Linked DNA regions of Homo sapiens: regions 1, 2 and 4 are each linked to region 3. The links are contacts of gene promoters, found by promoter capture Hi-C in blood cells and fetal thymus (Javierre and others, 2016). All regions are on one chromosome and are shown on one strand. Each heading gives the region's core, a stretch centred on a gene start or on the middle of the fragment in contact. The rest is flanking DNA. Distances are from core to core; before and after follow the strand shown.

Region 1 (2,876 bases), core at 250-2,749, 2.2 Mb before region 3:
TATTCACCAGCACACCCCTGCTGCAGCAAGCCTCTCTGGAGGAGGAGGAGAGGGTGGCGTCCCGGGCAGCTGGCACGGACTGTGCAGACCGGCCTCAAGGCCAAGGTGAGGAACTGGGAAGGCCACCTCGACGGCTGTGTTTCTTGTGTAGAGAATTATCTCAGAGAGAAGCGACTACTATAATCAGCTGAAGCAGAAAGGCGTCAAAGTGCCCCCCCTGCAACAGTCAGAGGCCTTCCTGACCAGCAAATCCAAGAAGGGGACCTCCAAGTAGGCCCAGCCAGGCCCCCAAATACGGTCAGCCCAGCAGAGGCCGGGGCCCAGCTCCAGAACCACCCGCCCCCACCATGCGTCCTGCTCTCAGACTCAGAATTAAACCCCGGTGTTGGCACTGTCCCACCTTTTTCTTCTCTGGGATCCACGCGGGGGCCTACTCTCCTCTGCGACCTTGAGCTACAAGGACACTCCCCATTCCAAAGCTCACTCACAGGGAGTCAGCACACCAGCCTGTGCCCCTAGCTCCTAACAGGTCCCCTTGCGGCACCAGGCTGCCAGAGGCCTGAGCCGGGGTGTCCGCCCAGCACTCAGCACAGACCTCACGCCTGAGCAGAAGGGGTCTGTGACCTTCTGCCCTGGGGGCTCTCCTGGCTGGGGCACTCTCTTGCTGGAGGACCCCTCTGGAAGATGGTGAGGGTGGGGGGCTCTGTTCCCATCCCCCCGCTCCTGGAAGGAAAGCTTTACGCACGGGAACGGTGTCTGTGGTCCCCGACGCTTCCCCGGCGCCTCTGAGGCTCTGGGCGCCTGAACACCTTCGGAAGGGACTCTCCCCATTACCCTTCTCTGCTCCCCACCCACACCTGCTTCCCTTCCCGCCGCGAGCACCGAGCGTGGGCCACGTGCGGGCGCCACGCCCCTCAAGCCCCGGAGGAGGACGGTCCCCGCGGCCGGGTCCCCGAACCCAGCATTCAGGCCCAGACGCGCCCAGAGCCTCCCGCAGTCTCGTCGGCGCTGCAGCCGGGTCCCCGCGGGGCTGGGAGGCTCGTGGCGTCGGAGGGGCTCCAGCAGGGGTGAAGGAGGTCGGGGACCCTGGAGGCCCCAAGGGCGAGCCGTCTGGGGGCAGAAAGTGCAGCCCTCTGCAGACCCTGCCCGGCCCCCCTGCACCTCCTGGCCCCGGGGCTGGGCGGCCTAGAGCCCCGGCCCCTTCCGGACGAGGCGTCTCCCGGCCCCACTCGCCCCGCCCCCAGCCCCTTCTGGACCAGGCGCCTCCCCGCTGCGGCCCTAGCCCTTCCCCGCATGGCCCCGCCCCCCTCTCGCCCCGCCCCCTCTCGCCCCGCCCCCGGCCCCTTCTGGACCAGGCGCCTCCCCGCTACTGGCCCCAGACCTTCCCCGCATGGCCCCGCCCACCACTCTAGCCCCGCCACCTTCCGGACCAGACACCTCCCCGCTGCTGGCTCCAGCCCTTCCCCGCGTGGCCCCGCCCCCGCCCTCGCCCCCTGCCCAGGCCCGGCCCCTGCGGAGCCCAGAGACGCGGGGACACAGGTGAGGCGCGCGGGGTCCGGGCTGCGGCTTCCCGGTGCGGCCGCAGTGGGCAGGTGCGACTGTGCGCGGCCTCGCTGGCTGAGAACTGGCGGGGGTGGGGGCGTGCCCTGGACTGACCCCCACCGGCCTAACCCGCGGTGCGGGGCCAGGGCCGGAACTGCCCGCCCGGCTCCTTGCCCGGCTCCTTGTGGCTGCTGGGGACCCCCGACACCAGCCACTTTCCCTTCCCGGCCCTTAGCAAGATCGGCTTCTCCGGTCACCTTTATTTTTTTAGGCTCGAGGCGTCTGCCGCACCTCAGCCCACGACCTGCCCCGCTGGGAGGTGCGGGCCGCTGGCCAGGCCCTGACCGCAACCTGGCCCAGAGGCCCCAGCCCTCAGGCAAGGTTCTCCGGGTAAGTGTGGGGCCCTGAGGCGCTGTGGGGTGAAGAGGTCTATGGAGGGGCGCCTGTGTACCTAGGGCCTTCCTGCACTCACAAGCCCCCAGGAGGTGCCAGGATCCGGGAGCCTCCCAGGGCCTGGAGGGGAGTCCCTGATGGGTTCCTGCCGCCACACCTGTGACCATCACATGAGTGTGGAGAGACGTTTACTGAGCAAGTGAGGGAGGCCAGCCTCAAGGGCCGGCTCTGGTGGCTGTGCACCGGGGTGACTTGGGAACAACGTGTTCTACGTCAGCAAGACAGGAACCCATGATCCCAGAGTTGAACACACTGGGCTTGACCCCTCCCACCGGGAGGCCCATGGTGGGCTGCTGCTGTGGACTTGGAGCCTCAGCACTCCCGAGACTAATGCTGCGTGGATGTCGGGTTGCAAGGCGGCTGCTGCAGCTCCAGCAGCTCCAGCCATCACGTCGAGTCTGGAAGAAGGAGGTGGCTGCTGCTGCTTTCACAGAAGCAAACTCTCCCATCCCCTGCTGCACCCTGGCTCCTGGACCCCAGCTGGGTGACTTGGGAAAGCAGGGGTGGTGGTATTAAGCTTGTCTTACCCGGGTCATGGCTGTTACCTGGGGCTGGCACATTGCTGCTGGGACCAGAATGGGATTCTGCACACCAGGCAAGAGGGCGTGAACCTCGGGTAGGCAGCTGACCGCTCCACATGCTCCGGGAAAACAGCACCCATACTCCAGTAGAGGCTGGGCCTCTCCGGGCCTGAGTGCCAGGCTGCACTGAGCCAGGGCTCCCACCGAAGGCACACTTTATGGCTTTGAGACAGCTCCTTCTGCCTCTCTGGGCTTTGGGGGAAGGCAGACATGGAAGTGCCGGGAGTCTCAGAACTGCCTGGGGCCTGAGTTTCTGAGCTGGCTTCTTGCAGGGGAGTGGCTGCTGTGCCTTTAGGCCTC
Region 2 (3,288 bases), core at 578-3,077, 2.1 Mb before region 3:
TGTGTTGTCTAGGCTGGTCTTGAACTCCTCCCACCTTAGTGTCCCAAAGTGTTGGGATTACAGGCGTGAGCCGCCGAGCCTGGCTAGTCTCTGAACCTAACCAACACTCTCTGTTACGGCTCGAAGACATAAATATAGGACCTTTTCAGTCAAACAGAAGGGTGTTTCCAGTATGCTATACTGCCCCCAACAAATCTAAAACAAAGTACTGGCATTTAAGAACCAGCTAAGAGAAATGCACAGGGACTGTGGAGGCAATGCTATTACCTCAGTCTGGTATTTGAAAAGGATTCCTTTTTTAGTCTACCCCCTCCCAAAGACCTTCCAGTTGTACCCTAGGGTCCCCTCTGTGTAAACCTTCAAGTGTTACATAAGATACTTGGAATGTCACTGAAGGATGCCACTTTTAGGCTCTATAAAAATCACCATTAACAATTTGGGAAGAAGCAAAGCTCTGTTGAACATCCAGTTATTGGCTGGTCTTCCTCACCAGAGGCATGAGGGATCCCTGTTGTCCCAGGGGCAGCCATCGACATCCCGACAAATGCCAGAGTACATCTCTCCCCAGGCAGCGATGACTCCATGGCGGTCTCATCCCTCACTACACTTTTCCTAGTGCTGGCATGGTAAAAGGCAATTAACTATAAATTAAACGGAAACTCAGTGTAGCAACTTCCATTTTGTTACAAGACTAGGAAACAAAACTTGTCTCTGATTTTCTTTTTAAGAAGACTTTTAAGTGTGACTGCGCGCGGTGGCTCATGCCTGTAATCCCAGCACTTCGGGAGGCCGAGGAGGGCGTATTACTTGAGGTCAGGAGTTCGAGACCAGCCTGGCCAACATGGTGAAACCCCGTCTCTACTAAAAATAAAAAAATTAGTCGGGCTACTCGGGAGGCTGAGGCAGGAGAATCGCTTGAACCCGGGAGGCGGAGGCTGCAGTGAGCTGAGATCGTGCCATTGCACTCCAGCCTGGGCGACAGAGCGAGACCGTCTCAAAGGCTTATGGGTTTCTGATCAAGTCATCTTAGCGACTGAAAGGGCTTCAGAGAAATCTGAACTTAAGTGCAAACAAAACAAAACAAACTCCAAAACAAAAAACAACCAACCATCAGACTTTAATCTCTATAGGGACAGAGCAATTTTCCTCAAACTTTTGCTCAGCAGAACACATCTGAAACTGGCCCCCTATGTGCTACGCATCCAGAAGAGGAAAAGCCGGATCTGAAAACAATATTCCACGCTAAATGGGCCGTCCCGGCCGGGGCAGGCGGTCCCAGCACCCGTGCTGAGCTCCCCGGCATACGGCACGACGGGGCCGCGCCGGCTCTTCGGCGACAGCAAGGCCGGCATCTAACTCCACACCGTCCGCGCTTGCACCGCGCACCCAGGCTTCGTACCCAGCTCCCAGGTGGGGACCGCGCCCCCGCGGCGCCCGCGCCCCGCGCCCCGCGCCCCGCTCCCCACTCCGGCCCTGGGCCGGCGCCGCAGCGGCCCGGAAGGTACCTGCTTAGAGGGAAGGGCCCCGACTGGCGCTGCCGCGGCCCCGGTGGAGAGGGCGGCTGGGTCGGAGCGGTGCCGCGGCCCGGGGAGGCGGCCAGGCGGCGCCTCAGCACCCGGACCCCAGGGGCGTGCGGGACCCGGCTCTCGTGGACTTCCTCGGCAGCCGCCGCTTCCTCAGACGGAACTCGGGGGGCGCCCCTTCCGCCGCCCCAGGCCGCCTTGCACCCCAAGCTGCTGCGGCAGTGACAGGGAAGAAGCAGACCCGGCCACCTCTGCCCATAGCCCCGGCCGCAGCCTCCACTCTCATGACAACCAAGCCCAGCCCTGGGCCAGGGCCTCTGCGCGTGCGCGACCCCGCCCCACCCCAGGCCGCGCCTGCGCACAAGGGGAGGGCTCCGCTACTCTGGCCCTCAGGGTTGTGTAGTTTCCGGGGCCACGGCACCTGGGCACACCAGGTGGCGTCGCGCCTTTGCTTTCCTGAGCCTTCTGAGTAAGGTAATGTGGTGTCCGTGGGGCGACGCCTGCGCACAAGACCGCGTCGGGCCTCACTTTTCCCAGGCCTTCTGGGTAATGTAGTTTCCGGGATCGGCACCCGGCCTGTGCCAGCTTGCAGAGCTCACCAGGTGCAGACCCCTGCGGCCAGGGCGAGGACGGATCTGAGCAGCTGGGCAGCAGGTGCCACCGCCTGTGGGACCCAGAGGGCTTGAGGACATCTGCAATGCTCCAGAAGCCCAAGAGCGTGAAGCTGCGGGCCCTGCGCAGCCCGAGGAAGTTCGGCGTGGCTGGCCGGAGCTGCCAGGAGGTGCTGCGCAAGGGCTGTCTCCGCTTCCAGGTGCCCGCTGGGCTAGGCGGGGACGGCCCGTCGGGGAGGCGTGTGGGGAGAATAGGAGGTGCCGCTTTTCCTCTTCCAAAACGGAGGGTGCAGGCGGCGCCCGGGGCGGGTAGTTTTCGTTCGCCTCAGCCGCTAGGACCCCGGGCCCCCGCAGCCTGGGGTTCCTGAGCGTGGCTTCAGAACGCAGGGGGGTTGGGGGACGACCTGGATCACCCCTTCCCTCTTCCCACCTCTCGGGCAGGACAGCCCTGCATCAGAGCTAGGAGACCCGGGTAGAGTGCCAGGTACTGGCACGCGGGGTCACGGCTGCTCTGCCTGTCCGGCCTCAGCTTCCCCTTGAGTAACATGAAAGGCTTGGCTAGGTGGGCTCTGCAGGCCCCTTCCAGCCCTCGCAGCTGGGGATTGCAATCGTCACCTTATTCTAGGTTGGTTTTCTTTTTAGACCAGTACTAGGGTTACCAGGTGTGCATTGCCGGGGTCGGTGCGGGTGGGGTGGGAGTAGCCATAAAATGCCTAAAACTGACCAGTGCAGAGTAACAGGGAACCGGACTCCAACAAATTAACAGTGCCACGTGCCGGTCACACTTGTGCACAGAGGCAACCAACCGTTCTCCTTCGTGTGCCAGCACCGCTCTGGCGGCTGTGTGCTGGGGATGGTGGTGTTCAGCTCCTGGCAGCAGGGAGGCGGCGCTGTCAAAGACAGGCTCTATTTGAAGCGCCCTCAGGAGCTCATTTAAAAAGGGTGAATCCTGCAGAGCCAGCAGTCACCCCCTGATGTATGTTTTTCCTGACTCTTCGTATTTTAGAACGGCCCGCAGTCAGGCGCCCTTGCTCCCGCTCCCTCATCCTTGCCTGGGCGTTGGAGCGACTGTGGCATACAGGCGGCAGCCTGAGCCTGCTTCTTTAAGCACAGCTCATTCCGGTCGTTTGTGAGGCCTGCAGATGCAAAGCCCT
Region 3 (3,317 bases), core at 232-2,731:
GGCTGTCAAATGTGCTGTCTTCAAGCATCTAGAAAGCCAGTGGGGGAGAAAGACAAGAAAGTGACTGTGAGCAGCAACAGGCCCCCGGGAGGGTGCAGAGGTGAGCAGGGCTGAAGGAAGATGCAGGGGGTGGGAGGCGCTGTCAGGGTCCGGGAAGCCTCCTTCCCGGAATGGAAAATGTGTAATGCCTGAGACCCAGATGCCTTGGGGAGCTTTTGGGGAAGCAGAGGTCTGATTAAGCACTGCCTGGAATTCCCTCATTCATGAGCATTCTTTCAGCACCTACCCTGCGCCCGGGAGAAACGGTCTTGAACACAGCAGACAAGCTCGCTACCCCCATAGAATGTAAAGAAACGGGGCACAAATTAGCATACAAAAAGACACAAGTGTGACCTACGGAAACTGCACAGAGGAGGTGCAACGAACGGAGCCCTGGGTTAGGACCGGGAGGCGCTGCCCACCATCAACAGAAATACTCCTCCTTTTGCCAACTACACACGCGAGAGGCTGGATTTCCTTCACAGACGTCCACCAAAGCCACACATCGCGACACACGGAGGCAGAAAGCAGCGGTCTCCTAAGAAGTTAGACACGAGGAATCTCGGGCAGCGAGGTGCCTGCAAGCCCGGGGGCGGGCGGGAGCAGCCTGCACGCGTGGGGAAGGGCACGCGGGAGCGGGTGGCGCCTTCCGGGCCGGGTCGGCCGGGAGGTTCCAAGGCAGGAAAGGGGCGCAGAAGGCCGGGACGGCGCCGGGTACAAAGCCTCGCAGGGACGCCCGAAGGCCGCAGAGCCACCGCGGGGAACTGACAGCCGGAGCCGGAGCTGGAGCCGGGGGGCGGGGAGGAGGGGCGGAGGGGCGCGGCCAGGCGGGGTCCGCGGACTCCGGCCTGGGAAGGATGCGCGCGGACTAGGGCGCGGGGAGCCAAGGCCCAGAACATCGGTACCGCGCTCCCTTCAGCCGAGGGGCTGCAGAGAGGCCAGGGGGCAGGGGGCAGGGGGCAGGGGGCAGGGGGCAAAGGGCAAGGGCAGAAAGGAACCCACGTAGCCAAACGGCACCCAGCGGCCCCGACCCCAAGTGTCCCGACGAGGGGGGACGCCTGCGACTAACGCGGGGACAGCCCCCGCCGCGCGCCACCGCCGCACCCCAGGCACCGGGCCCCCACGCAGGGACGGCGTGGACCACCCTACCCCCGAACCCCGAGGCTCTGGCCAACACTGAGGCCCCCTGTGCCTCGAGGCCGCGTCCAACCTCCCCCGCGGCGCCGGCCCACATGGTTCCGCCCGCCGCGGGCCGCGTTACCTAGGAGACCGACCCGCCGCGGCCGCGCCGGAGGCCACGGAGCCCACGCTTTTCAGAGAGTCTCCACTCGACGGACCCAGAGGCCCGGCGGCCGGTGCTCAACGGAGCCACAAGCCTGAGGACCGAGGACTGGCCGAGGGGCGCGCCCCGTCCGCTGCCACCCGCGGGAGGAGCCTCGGAAGGCGGCGCACCGCGCCGCACACTCAGTCCAAGAACCCGCCTCGCGTCACTGTCGCCGTCAGGGCCGCGGAGCCAATCAGAGCCCAAGTCGAGGGCTGCGCTTTGCGAGCGCCAGCCAATCGGTGCGGCGGCGGGCCCATCCTGATTTGCATGTCCGACGACCCCTCAACCAATGGTAATGTGACTGGCGTGAACAATAGCCAATCAGAAGCTGGAAGAGGCGTGGCCCCGGGCGTCCCACGAGGTGAAGATGCTGCTGGCGGAACCTGCAGGAGCTAGCGGGATTCGGGGGCGCTAAAGTCGCAGGGGCAGGGCGGGAAGGAAGATCCGGCGCGGGGCACAGGATCCGGAGCTGGAGCCCCCAGGTGAGTACCGGGGAGACCCCGGCGGGGCGCGCTTTCCACCAAGCTGCTCCGGGACGGCGGCGGCGGGTATCCGCGAGGCCCGCGCTGCGGCAGGCGCCGCGGTCCCGTCTCCATCTCTTCTTCCCCGGCCCTGCGTCCCTGCCTCCGCCGCTGTCTCACCTCCTCTCCAGCCTCCTCACCTCCTTCTCCATCGTCTCCCTTCCCCCATCCCTTTCTGTCTTTCCTTCCCTGTCCTCCCGCCCGCCCGACCCTTCAGCTCGCATCCCTGACCCCTGCCCCTGCCGCCGTCCCTCTTCCCGGTGCACCTCTTCCCCATCTCTGCCCGCTCCGGTCCTAGCAGCCTCGCCCTCCCCTTTCCTCCATCCTCCTCTCATCCCCTCTCCCGGCCTCTGCGCAGCCCCACCGGGGCGCTGCTGTTCCCGGTCCTCCCCATCTCTCCTCCTGATCGCTTCTCAAGGCTCATCCGTCGTTCTCGCTGCCTGTCCCTGTGTCGCTCCGGTCCCTTTCCCCACCCTCCCATTCTGCCCCCAGCCCCTCCGACCTCTCCCCGCGGGCACGCTCTCACCACCTTACCCTGCTCCCCAAGACTGTGACCCTGCTTCCTGCACCAGTTCCTCGGGCTGTTTACAGCACACACACCGCCACTTCTGACCCTGAGCCCCTACTCCTATCTTAAGCTTCTCCCTCCTGCCAGGCCTTGGCACAAAGCACTTCCGCACCTCCCTACCTGCTGCTGCTCCCAGGATGCAAAGACCCCACTGCTGCACCGCGTCCTGCGGCATTAGCAGCAGCCGGGGTACCTGCCCACCTTCCCACCCCGCCAACCAGCCGCATCCTGGTGTCCCTCCTCCTGGCATTTGTCCTGGGGGCTCTTACAGGGACTGTGCTTTGCCCGCAGCATCCCGGGGTGCTCCAGGTGGAAAGCCCCTTAGCACCTTTCCTCCCTGGCCACCGTCTCCTTCCCTCCCCACCCCCACTTTCCTGCTCAGCCTCACTTTGTGATTCAGCATTTTTGGGGTTGGTAACTTTCTTGCTTCCTGTCGTGATAGGGACCTGGCTACGGAGCTGAAGGCAGGGGTCTTGACCCTGCGGTTAGCAGGGCCACCTTAGGAACCAGACCTGAGCTGCCTGGTTGGGAGGGGGCTGAGGAGCTGGGGACCGCCACTGGGGGTTGTCTTTTCCTCCCTTTCATTTGTCTGCCCTGTGTTGAACTGTGTCCAAGGGGAGATGACATAAGTAATAGCTCTTGGGGAAGTGGGCTATTAGCATTTATGGAAATTAATACATCCACATCCGAGGAGCAAGAACACCAAGTTCAGGCCACAGCTGTCCCACTGTCTGTCGTTTCAGGATTTTTTCTTTCTCTGCAACTTCTCCTCCCCGACAAAAACCCCAGCCTCACCCCTCCCCTTTCCCCCAGTGCCAAGAGTAAGCTCCTGCTCTGCTAAGGAAGCCGCATTCAGGCCCCGCGT
Region 4 (2,958 bases), core at 133-2,632, 2.3 Mb before region 3:
AAGTTAAGCAAGCAGATGTAATCTTTCTCCTTATAATTCACTGAAATTTTCATAAATGGTAAAAACAAAAAACAAACCTCTCATTTAATTGAGGAGGGGGGCACATTGAAAATATACCAAGGCTGAGATGCCATTTAAACTAATGAGGTTTTCTGTTTTGTAGCTGATGCTATTTTATGTGATTTGGAATAAAACCTCCCTGAAGAGGTAAAAAACGTAATTTGAGAGTTAAACTCTCAAAAGCTAGACAGAGCACAGGAATGTCAGGAGTGGCAAAACCTGAAAAAGCATCATGATACATCAGTCAGTTAGTACAGGTGGTGGATAAGGAAAACGAAGCCCACTTTTTACGAGGCATGTTTCTTCTTAGTGGCTTTCCAATGCCAATTGTCCCCCTCTTCTGAGGACATACATACTAGGCATCCGGGTTATCCCTCTCTTCTGAGGATATACACTACTAGGCATCCAGGTACATACACTATATGTTTTGAAGCTTAAAGTTATAGCTCTGTGATTTAAGCACCCTTCTGCCACCCATGGAACGAAGACCTCAAATCCCAGCCATGAGGACAACTACTTCCTTACCTGGGGATAGAATACTAGTATTTAAATCATTTATTCGGCATGTGGTAGAGGAGAAGAGAATTAGAGGAGAAGTAGAGATGACAAAGTAGCCACACCACTTACCAGTTTACAGGCAACAGAATCATCAATTTGCCTTTTGTGACAAAGTAACAACAAAGAGCCGACATCTCCTATACCCTCACCTGTGTGCAGTCGGCACTGCCGATACCCACCTTTCCAAGGGCACCTCCCCAGACCCCCCACCTGTCTACGGTATCTTCCTGGGTCCCGCACCTGCCCGGGCACCTGCCGGGGTCCTGCACCTGTCCGGCCCCCATATCTGCTTGGGGTACCTGCCTGGGCCCCGCACCTGCTTGGGGTACCTGCCTGGGCCCCGCACCTGCTTGGGGCACCTCCCCGGGCCCTCCACCTGTCTAGGGTATCTTCCTGGGTCCCGCACCTGTCTGGGGCACTTGCTCAGACACTGCACCTGCCCCGGGTACCTGCCCGGGCCCCGCACCTGTCCGGGCACCGCACCTGCAGGATCCCCAAGCTGCCTCCACCCACGCGGCCGCCCCCGGCCCTGCCCGCCGGGGACGCTGGCACCGAGGATGTCCTGCCCGTGGCCCAGGTCCCCGCCGCTCACCAGGTACTTGCCGTCCGGGGAGAACTTGCAGAGTAAGCTGGAGAGCTTGAATACCTCGGAGAAGTTCATGGCCGCCGCCTGCCGCGGGCGCCACCCTGCGCCCGAAAACCCGCGGGACCCCTGGGCGCGCAGCAGGCTGCAACAGCCGACGCCGGCCTCCGAGGCCGGAAGTCAGAAGGCGGAAGTGAACTGCAGCCTATCAGCGCCGCCGGCTTCCGCGCGGCATTGTGGGGCTTGTAGTTCTTGTGCCGCAGGGCTTTAAAGGAAACGCCCACGTTTCTTCCGACCAGGGATTTCCGACCCGAGAACCTTACCTCAAAGGCCGGGAGGCCTTTGAGCACCTCCAGCTAGGGCTGCTGATAAAAATGTAGAAAGCACAGTAAAATTTGAATTTCAGATTCACAACAAATCTAGTTATAAGTATGTTCCCAAATATTGCACGGGACATGCTAATACGGAAAAATTACTCGCTAGTCTGAAATTCAAATTTAATTGAGCGACCTGTGTGTCTGCGTGTGTGTACACATGCATATATATATATTTATATTTATATGTAAATGTATGTTTACATGTAAATATATGTTTACCTACAAATATATCTTTAATAAGTAATACGGTGTCTGTCGCACATATATTATATCGTGTATGTAATGTATAAGTATTTATTTCGTTTGCTTGGGGTTTTGTTTGCTTTTGCTGAGTCCGACCCCTCTACCTGCCGCCTGGCCCTTGCCTCACGCTCCAGTGCCACTGAGATCAAGGAGAGAACGAATTTGCCGCTGACTGGGCAGAGCGAGCGCGTGGATCGCGGCCACCGCCCGTTCATCACCCGCGCGCATCTGGGCTGGCACCGGGCGAAGAATCGTGCGGGTCTGGGACCTGGGGGCCCAGAGGGAGCGAGCTCCTGCGCGGGCGCTCGGTCCGCAGGTTTCGCAGGCTCAGGGGCGTGCCTCGTTCTCACCCCCACTCCGGACCCCGGTCCTCTTCCCTAGACAGCGGCCCCCTCCACCCCTGGCTCCCGCAGGCCGCTAGTAGTCCGCGCCAGGCCCCGCCGGCGCCTCTAGGGCCCCCCAGATCGCGCAGACCCTGACATCCCCGCCTGGCCCTGGGTTCTGGGAGCTGAGAGCCGGCCAGGGTCCTGCTCGTACCTCCGGGCGCCCAGCCTCGGGTCTGCTCCCCGCGGACGCCCCAACCTCCCCGGCCGAATGGATGGTGGTGCGCGCGCGTCCTACTCCGGCGGTGCCGGCCTTTTCTGTTGCCAAAACTAGACCCAAACCTCTGCATGGGATTCGTCTTTGGGTCCCCACCCCGTGCGCCCAGCAAACAGTGGGTGAGCCATGAAGATGTGCGAGTCAGCCGGACCCTCCCCGTCAGGCGCGGACCCGCTGCGGCCAGAGAACCCAGTCTGCGCCAGCCCGGCTCGCTCGCGAAGCCACGGGCTTCACTGACGCGACTTTCCAAGACGTGGGGGTCACCATGGGCAGAGGACATCGGTTCGGAGCCAGATCACGGGCCCCATAAGCATCAGACCATAAGCAGCGCCGCCACTGAGAGCCGCTCGGAACTCGCCCAGCATGTCGGGTCCCCTAGCCAGGGCCTGGTGTACGTGGTCGAGGGCCCTGGAAGCCCCGATGGCCTAGGAGGAGCAGGCGGGCGGGGCGGCGGGTGTCGCTGGCCGGTAGAGAGCTTCGGCCTGACCTAGCGCAGGTCTGGTGCGCGCAGAGAACAACTCCAAGCGCACCGACGCC

What was found. The method cuts DNA at HindIII sites, captures the fragments that hold promoters and counts their contacts. A CHiCAGO score of 5 or more calls a contact.
Region 1: a contact is called between the fragment with the promoter of SMIM1 here and the fragment with the promoter of NPHP4 in region 3, in 1 of 17 cell types (endothelial precursors). The highest score is 6.5, in endothelial precursors.
Region 2: the fragment with the promoter of CEP104 here is called in contact with the fragment with the promoter of NPHP4 in region 3 in 1 of 17 cell types (fetal thymus); the score reaches 5.6 in fetal thymus.
Region 4: the fragment with the promoter of WRAP73 here is called in contact with the fragment with the promoter of NPHP4 in region 3 in 3 of 17 cell types (fetal thymus, endothelial precursors and neutrophils); the score reaches 7.3 in fetal thymus.

What each region holds. Positions count from the first base shown.
Region 1 is chr1:3,771,250-3,774,125 of GRCh38, forward strand. It overlaps SMIM1 (small integral membrane protein 1 (Vel blood group)), which reads left to right and starts at 1,500. Exons shown (of 4, transcript NM_001288583.2): 1 at 1,500-1,539; 2 at 1,814-1,932. CCDC27 (coiled-coil domain containing 27) reads left to right here. Exons shown (of 12, transcript NM_152492.3): 12 at 152-396. The coding sequence ends at 274. RefSeq lists enhancers at 1-561, 1,848-2,363, 2,364-2,876 and a silencer at 907-1,786. The HindIII fragment of the contact is 1,777 bases long and covers 734-2,510 here.
Region 2 is chr1:3,855,384-3,858,671 of GRCh38, forward strand. CEP104 (centrosomal protein 104) reads right to left here and starts at 1,828. Exons shown (of 22, transcript NM_014704.4): 1 at 1,506-1,828. It overlaps DFFB (DNA fragmentation factor subunit beta), which reads left to right and starts at 2,093. Exons shown (of 7, transcript NM_004402.4): 1 at 2,093-2,334. The coding sequence starts at 2,221. RefSeq lists silencers at 1,495-1,994, 2,925-2,974 and an enhancer at 2,135-2,314. The HindIII fragment of the contact is 29,508 bases long and covers 1-3,288 here.
Region 3 is chr1:5,990,944-5,994,260 of GRCh38, forward strand. NPHP4 (nephrocystin 4) reads right to left here and starts at 1,482. Exons shown (of 30, transcript NM_015102.5): 1 at 1,301-1,482. It also overlaps a transcript of KCNAB2 not described here. RefSeq lists enhancers at 51-905, 2,782-2,831 and silencers at 982-1,161, 1,312-1,481, 1,522-1,701, 1,782-2,031. The HindIII fragment of the contact is 3,854 bases long and covers 1-2,520 here.
Region 4 is chr1:3,648,721-3,651,678 of GRCh38, forward strand. WRAP73 (WD repeat containing, antisense to TP73) reads right to left here and starts at 1,383. Exons shown (of 12, transcript NM_017818.4): 1 at 1,211-1,383. The coding sequence starts at 1,279. RefSeq lists an enhancer at 1,604-2,447. The HindIII fragment of the contact is 11,564 bases long and covers 492-2,958 here.